Linked DNA regions of Homo sapiens: regions 1 and 2 are each linked to region 3. The links are contacts of gene promoters, found by promoter capture Hi-C in blood cells and fetal thymus (Javierre and others, 2016). All regions are on one chromosome and are shown on one strand. The core of a region is centred on a gene start or on the middle of the fragment in contact, and the rest is flanking DNA. Distances in the headings are between cores, read along the strand shown.

Region 1 (2,700 bases), core at 78-2,577, 190 kb before region 3:
ACGGGGTTTCACCATGTTGGCCAGGCTGGTCTTGAACTCCTGACCTCAGGTGATCCACCCACCTTCACCTCCCAAAGTGCTGGGATTACAGGCATGAGCCACTGGGCCCAGCCTAAATAGTATATATTTTTAAATATCCTTTCAGAAAAGGCCGCTTATCCAGAACCATTCTGAAGACAGTAAAGAACTGCTGAAGAGGAAGAAAAAACTGGCTGTGCAATAGTCAGACCTCCTCTGAACAAAGCCTCCTGGAGAGAAACAGCTGCAGTGGAGGCATTACTCACCCATGTTCAGAGGCAACGGAAACGATTTAGAATCACAAGCTTGTCAAGTATTGGAGCTGGAAGGGACCTTAGGGAGCATTGAATCTACTCACTTCATTTTACAGATGAAATGAAGACAAGATAGATGGAGAGTCTTGCCCAAAGTCACATAGAGCTGGCATCCAAATCACTATTGTTTCTCAAAAATATCACATGGTGGCAAATGGAGCATAACTCTGTGGGGCTGGACGACAGCTAAATTCAAGCAACATTTGTTCATTAAGCACCTACTATGTACAAGGCACCTTACAAGATGGTACTGAAGATACAAAGATGGATGAGACACAGTCCTGCCTCCAAGGGCTTATGAAAGTCATTGGAGGCCATGCTTCAAAACCTTTCTTAGCAGAAATATTACTGACCAGGGCTAAGGTTGCTGGTGATAACAAGGCAGCTGCTGCCCTGGAGAGGTGATCTCACAACAGGTGGCACTTTCTCCCCTTCACTATCTATCAGAACTAATGCCTGTTACTCAGCTGCTAGGCATTAAAATTCTTGAAACCCTAAGGACACTCTTCTCTCCTAGGCCTCCAGTCAAACCTGAAGTCTTAGCCTCTCCCACCCACAGCAATGACAGGAGGGCAGTAGCGCTCCAGACCCTCCCCTCAATTCTTAGTCAACTGTTCGCTTTCTCCCTTGTGCCCAGCCTAGGCCCTCTGCAAGGACTGACAATTTCCCAAGGTACTGTCAAAGTGACCCAGGAAAATGTCCTACCATATACATCGCTGGTATCTAACTTCCACTGCCCCATCAACCACCTCTCCCACCTCTACATGGGAGCTGAAATAACTCCAGTCCCTGATGACACACCCAAGCCTCAATTACCCATACTCCAAAAGATGAGAAAGATGTAATGGTTGGTTAGAATAAAGCCGATTCAAGAGGCAGTGGAAAACAGTGATTTGATAATAAAACTGATCTCTCACATTTGTACGGCGCTTTCCAGTTTATATAGTGTTTTTATCCAGTTATCTGATTATATTCTTACCACAACTCTGTGAGGTAGTTAGTGAAGTATTATTCCCATTTTATAGCTGAAGAACCTTAGGCTTGAGAGACCAAGCGGTTTGCCCAAAGTTACCCAGCTAAGGAAGTGTGGAGCCAAGTGTCCAGGTTTCTTGACTCCAAATCCAGTGCTCTTCCCCCTATATAGTCTATAATTGGCAGGCAATTGAATGAATTGCCCATGATCATATACCTGCTAAGTGTTGGTGATGGGATTAGGTTTCAGTCTCCAAATCTGTTAGTACGGTGCCCCTTCACCATACCAACTAACTGGGCCAATGTGCTCAGAATGTCTACCATGGAAGAGATCAGAAGAACATCTAGTTAGTTAACTACTCTTTTCTATGTCTAGGTCATCAGTTCTCTCCTTCATCCTCCCCCAAGTCAACAATGTATCCCAACTGGCAAAGCCTCTAAAACATGCACTATTCCTAGAACAGAACCCAGAGTCAGGTTACAAATTTAAACTTGCAACTCCTCTTCCATTGGTCTACTGATTATTCAGTCATTGCTATTACAGACAGATGGGAAAGAGATAAGCTGAGCAAATCTCAGTTCTGCCATTAAACAAATGTAAACCTTTAATTTCCATCATCCTTCCCCACCTCGGTCAGCAATTTGACTTCTTAACTCCTGAACTACAAAGTAAAATCCAATCTGATCTAGGGTTAGGGAGCAATAAAGCAGTGAATAATATCCCTGAAGTTCTTGGCGCTTTTCTCTGGCTAGTATATTACAACAGGAGGCCCTATCGTCTGATTTTCATCCAGTGGGCTCAGCTGGATGCTTCCAAGCACTCTCACACCTTTCCTTTGTGTGCATCTCAGTACTTTAGCTTTAGGATTGGTTGAGTAGCAGGGATATTTGAGATGAAAGCAATAAGAGGAGGTAAAGGGAAGCTGCAAGTGGAAGGCAGAGCTAGGACCTTTCCTCTTAGTTCTCTGCTCGTTAAAATGAAAACAGCTATTATTGCATCATTAGTGGAAGAGGGGAAGGAAGCTTCAGGATCATGACTTAAAACCTGACTCCAGAAACACTTCTACTGAATACAGGTAACATAGCACAGAACCTAGTGTTCTCAACTTCCCGCCCTCTGCCCATTTTTGCTGATGCTATAAATACTTGAATTAAATATGGGATCTTCTTTGTAAAAAAGGCACTCAGTCTACTCCCCAATCTCAGAAACACATATAAAATTATATTAGTCCAGAATTTTTATGCTTCCTCTGTCTTCTTCGTAGTGCCTAGGAGGGGGCTGAGTACATCATATCTGTGAAGAAGGAAATAGCTGCACATGTGTTTGTAAATTCCAAAGGGCTATCTTACACTTAAAGCATGCTGATGCTTAATATTGGTTTTAAGAATTTTCAGT
Region 2 (2,700 bases), core at 136-2,635, 220 kb before region 3:
TAAAAAGAGGAAGTAAAAAATACTGCTTTACTAAGCCCTCTGTCAGACCAGGCTCTAGACAAGCAAACTGACTCTAAGCTCCTGTTTTCCTGCTCTAACATCTGTATCTTGCCTACAGTCACCTAAAACACTGCTTTTAACATTTTACTCCTTTACTTAGAAATGTTTCTTGTTAGGTGTTTGTAGTTTGACAGTTTCTCGGGTGATTTTGATAAAACTCCCCTTCCTACTTGCTCTAAGAATCACTAGGAATCCTCTGCTTTAATCAGGCTAGATTCCTCAGGGCCTCACAGATATCCAAAGTTCATCTTCAGCTGGCCGCCTCATTTGTTTCCCACAATGATGTCACTCTTCTTAAACAATCCTTTTTACCCCAGGCCCGAATTTCACCTCTCTATCTTATCCACACGCTGCACAATTCAAAGACTAGCTGAAGTCTGTCCTCTCCAAAGCCTTTCTAGCTCTTCCAACTCTGACTACTCTTTTTCCTCCTCTCAAGATCAGCAGTGCTCCAGGTATGGCATACCATCTAGCCCCATTGCTCACCACTGAGTCATGAGTACGGTGCCCCAGCTGGTAAGAATGAATGCTCCTCAATGGACCATGCCTCACTCTTACATGGTGAAGGCATTTATATGCACCTTCAGAGACACAGCACACTTCTGACTTAGAGATACCACTGGTATTACTCTAATCAACGTCAGGGGCCTGGAGATACATCAAGCTTTATTATCATGATTAATTTTCAGATTGAAAGGGAGTAGTAGTTACAATAGGTTTTTCAAGAGGCACAAGGCCTAAAATTTGCATAATGTATTTTGTACTTCATGAGGGAGGTGGGGAATGTAATACCACTCAAAAAGAGATTTGGTAACTCCTGGAGTTAGGGTATAATTCTCATGAGGTGGGATAAAAGCACGAACTCAGTCAATAGTAGGGCAAAAGAGAGTCAATTCTTCAAGAAAATGACACTGCCCCACTACCTTGACCTTAGGCCCTAAATGTAGAAAACCTCATGCCTAATGAAGTACTATGATATTCAGAATGAATAGCTGAAAAATAACCAACAGACAGGGCACTTGTAAGTAACCACACAGCAGCCACAATCAACATCCACACAACCCACCATAAGCAATTTTTGGAACACAAAGAGAAAGGGCAAGATGACTTACACACCACAGACAGCACTGAAGAGGGCTTGCTAGGAAAAGTAATTTGGTATCATCAAGCTGTATACGTAAAGTTGACGGTATATAAATTATGCCTTGATAAAATTGTTTTTTAAAAAAGTAATCTGGTGACATGAGCTAGGGTATTCGCCTATGGAGAAGCAGCATGCAGTCCAGTAAAGTAAGGGGAGAGGGGTATTCACTAGGTTTTAATTGGCAGTTTCAAGATAGCAGGCACAAAACCTCTGGCACAGAAGCAGAAATGCCTCATGATGTTAAGACAGGAGAGTTCACTATAAATGATAAGAACTACCACAATATAGCCTTTGAAAAATACACACAAACATATAATAAAAAGTCAAACCAGGCCAGGCACAGTGGCTCACGCCTGTAATCCCAGCACTTTGGGAGGCCAAGGTGGGTGGATCACTTGAGGTCAGGAGTTTGAGACCAGCCTGGCCAACATGGTGAAACCCCATCTCTACTACAAGTACATAAAAAAAAATTAGCCAGGCGTGGTGGCCCATGCCTGTAATCCCAGCAACTCAGGAAGCTGGGGTAGGAGAATCGCTTGAACACAGGAAGCGGAGGTTGCAGTGAGCCAAGATCGTGCCACCGCACTCCAGCCTGTGTGACAGAATGAGACTCCATCTCAAAATAATAATTAAAAAAACTCCAAACCATAAAAAACTACTGAAATAATGAGAACCATACAGCTAGTGGCAATTGGGGATAGTTTCAGAGAAAGAAGAAATGGGAGTGGGTGGAGGCAGAAAGAAAAACAAATTAATACTTAAGACTGGTGATAACTGAAGAAAGCAGAACTGATGAAAGAAGGGAAGTCTTAGAAATCATTGCTATTGGCCAAGAAGCTTGGTTCACAGTCTCCAGGACATAAGGTCTGCTTTGGGATAGGTTCTTTAGAAGGGGGCTAAAGGACATTTTTCCTTTAATATCAAATGAGGGAAATCAAGGGAGCCACATACAAGTAAAAGAAAATAATGCAGGAAAAGAGAGGAGGTTGCTGAGAGCTTAGAAGGACCCAAAACAGGAGTTCAGGATAATATATCTGAAATTAACACTTATGACAACAACTATCAATTATTACCTTTAGTGATAGAATAAAACTGGTTATATCTTAATTACATCATAGGAAAACATTTCTTTCATTTTTTACTTTAGTCTCTCAGAATAAAGGGATCATGTCCCATATCATATTATAATGAAGTGAAAAAGAAAGGAATCAATTTTTGTTTGTATACCTGTTATATGCCAGGCACTTTATCATACACATCTCCTCATAATAACCTTGCAAAATAGTTCTATCTCCAATTTACAGATGAAGAAACTGAAGCTCAGAAAGGCTAAGAGCCTGCTCAAGGATATGTACTTTTCAGTAGTGGATGTGAGATTTGAACCTGACCCTAAAAGCCATACGTTTTACACAATATCACACTTCCTCTAAAAAATACTCAATTTTTGCCATGTTTTTAGTTTTATGATACTAGACACTACACATTAACAGAAGTAA
Region 3 (2,700 bases), core at 45-2,544:
CATCTGATATACCCCCACTGCATGCAGAGTGAAATCTGGGCTTCTTGGAGCATTCAAGACTCTCCATAATATGTTTTGGTAGGCCAAGAGTTAGACCACTTGGATACCTTGATCTCTTGCTAAGTATTATTTACTTTCCCTACCCTATAAATCATCTGCCTCAAACATTAATCTTTGTACCTTCAACACCCCCTCTATTTTCTGTACTGTATTTGCAGCATTTCTTGTCTATCTCAGCCTGTCAAAATTAAACTCAGCGTTTATGTCAGGTTATGTCTCCATAATGCCTTATCCACGCCCTTAGTCAACATTCTTCTTCCTCTTCTGTGGTGCATAAAGACTTTTATATCTCAATCACACCACCTTTGGCGTTCTGCCTGGTTTTACAGATAGTTATGTCTTGGTGTCCCCTACTTCCTTACCCTGTGATTTAAGCATAGTATGGGTTAGAACATTTGCCATGAATTGGCCTGTGGCAGGGAGCTGATGATCCTTGTTATCAACCATTCAAAGTTTAGCAGATAGTTTGGAAAATCAGGCGATTCTGCTAATTCATGAAATTACTCATGAAAAAAAGTCGAAAGGAGTCACCCGTCTCTAAGGCGGCTTTTTGCTGTCTAGAATAACCGTGACAAAAGGTGGGAGCAAAATAATTAGCTTTCAGGGGAGTATGGCTTCTCTAAATAGTTGCAAGATGCCTACATTGTTTATGTAAAATAAAATATCTTATGTACTGCACTTTCGAAAAGACTGAAGATATCTAAGATATCTCCAGGTGGAAATTCCCGGTGACGGGTGTCCTTCTGAGGTCAACGGCACTGACCATTGCACACTGTATTCTGGAATACGTTCAACACAGCAAAACCGGCTCGTGGCGCGTCCCCGGCGTCCGACTGCTGCGTGGCCCCGAGCGACCTGCACCCCACTCGCCCCCGCCCCCACCTCCGCCCCAGTCCGCAGCGGCTACAGCCCGGGAGGCTCCAAGGGAACTCCCGCACGTCTGCGCGCGCAATCACGGGACGGCGGGTCGGCGTGGCGCGCGCAATTGCCCTGGAAACCACGGCGCGCGCACGCGCAAACGCGGGTGATGGGGGGAAGAAAGACTGAGCTGAGAGCTTTGCCGCGGGGGGAGGGCTCTACCTCGCTCCCCCGCGGTGGGCGCGCGCGCTGGCCCGCTCCCTTGCTGCACGCTCCCGGCTCGCGCGTTCCCCCCGGTGCCCTCCCCCGCCTCACAAGCACCCTTGCCCTCCCGCATTTGTGCGCCGGTGCAGCAGGCAGTGGGAACATCCGGGCATTTCCGCAGCTGAGCGGCGACCCGGGCGGCGGCGGCGGTCGAGGAGCTCCCATGGCAGGGACGAGGCGGAGGGAAGGCGAAAGGGGGGCGAGGAGTTAAGCCAGAGCCTCCGCGGGGCGGGTTTCCGAGGGAGGCACAGAGGGAAACGGCTCTCGCAGCCCGAGGAGGGTCAGGCGCGGAGCTTGTCGCACCTCCCGCGCATTCTGTCCAGCCCGGGCTCCGGAGATGCATCTGCATCAGGTCCTCACCGGAGCTGTCAACCCTGGAGACAACTGCTACTCCGTGGGCAGCGTCGGGGATGTCCCCTTCACGGTGAGCGGCGGCCGGGAGCCCTAGGGGAAGATACCAGGGGCCAGACGCGGGGGCAGGGACCTCCTGTCCAGGGCGCACGCCTCCTCAGGAGGCTGTGAGATGTTGGTGGGCCCCACCCGTGGCCCCTTTGCAGCCTTGGGGTTTAGTTCCCCCTGGGACCCGTGGGACCGTGGGTCCTGCGTCTGGTGTAGGAAATCACCCGTTAGGGGAAAGGCTTAGGAATCCACCGCACTCTCCACCCCAAGCAAACGGGCCTGAGGTGACTGGACTAGAAGGCTCCTCCTAGGGCGGCCCTTCGGTCTGCGGTGGAGGAAAGTGGTGGTGCGGCTGAAACCCCAGAGCGTCCGTTTCGCAGCTGCTCTCGGCGTGGAGGCGAAGAGACTTGGTGTTGGTCTCGGAGCGTGGAGGTGAAGAGACTTGGTGTTGGTCTCGGAGCGTGGAGGCGATGCTGCGCCTTGGCTCCCCCTGCCCGCTGTGCTAGGGCAGCGAGGAGCTGCTGGAGTCTGTGGCTTTAAGCCTGACTCTGTATCTCCTGATAATGCAGGATCTTAATTCCAACAAAAAGATAGAAAAATTCATCCTCCGCGCCCGAAAGATTTAGAATGGAAAGGTTAGAGTCACAGTGGCTTGGAGAGCTGTCTCATTTATCAGGAGGTCGTAGTTTGGTAATCCTCCTAGATAATATTTTAATCTGTAAGGTAGCCTTTTTTTTAATATAGTAAGGCAATGTGAAAAATTTACAACAGTGCTTGTTTGAGAAAAGTGTATGTATACATAACGTTTTAGAATCTCCTTAAAAGCTAGATGAAGTAGACATGTTTCTCAAGGAGATTGGACTCATCAGTCCTTTTTGAGAGTGGAAATGTTTAAACCAAGCCTTGGAGCTTCGTTTACTCATAGATAGACTCCCATAAATTGAGTTCTTTTTTAAAGAATGAAATTTATACATGGTCTTCCTTATAAGGAACTGTAGGCAGCCAGACCTTTATTAAATATATTTTGTAAACTGTTCTTCTTGATAAAACTGGAAATTCCGTAATGGTATGCTTTTTAGACAAGGAAAACCCTTTGATGTCTGCTTTCCAACAGTGTTT

Evidence for each region. Contacts are between HindIII fragments. The CHiCAGO score rates a contact against its expected background, and 5 or more counts as called.
Region 1: a fragment that was not itself captured here is called in contact with the fragment with the promoter of DMXL2 in region 3 in 1 of 17 cell types (neutrophils); the score reaches 5.5 in neutrophils.
Region 2: a fragment that was not itself captured here is called in contact with the fragment with the promoter of DMXL2 in region 3 in 1 of 17 cell types (M1 macrophages); the score reaches 5.9 in M1 macrophages.

The regions. Positions count from the first base shown.
Region 1 is chr15:51,812,393-51,815,092 of GRCh38, reverse strand. TMOD2 (tropomodulin 2) reads right to left here. Exons shown (of 10, transcript NM_014548.4): 10 at 1-2,700. Among named protein-coding and RNA genes, the nearest start is that of TMOD3, 16 kb to the left of the region's middle. The HindIII fragment of the contact is 2,004 bases long and covers 326-2,329 here.
Region 2 is chr15:51,840,911-51,843,610 of GRCh38, reverse strand. The region is part of intron 1 of TMOD3 (tropomodulin 3); the gene reads right to left. Among named protein-coding and RNA genes, the nearest start is that of TMOD3, 13 kb to the right of the region's middle. The HindIII fragment of the contact is 1,317 bases long and covers 727-2,043 here.
Region 3 is chr15:51,621,365-51,624,064 of GRCh38, reverse strand. DMXL2 (Dmx like 2) reads left to right here and starts at 1,294. Exons shown (of 44, transcript NM_001378457.1): 1 at 1,294-1,606. The coding sequence starts at 1,520. RefSeq lists a silencer at 1,157-1,376 and an enhancer at 1,747-2,156. The HindIII fragment of the contact is 5,213 bases long and covers 1-2,700 here.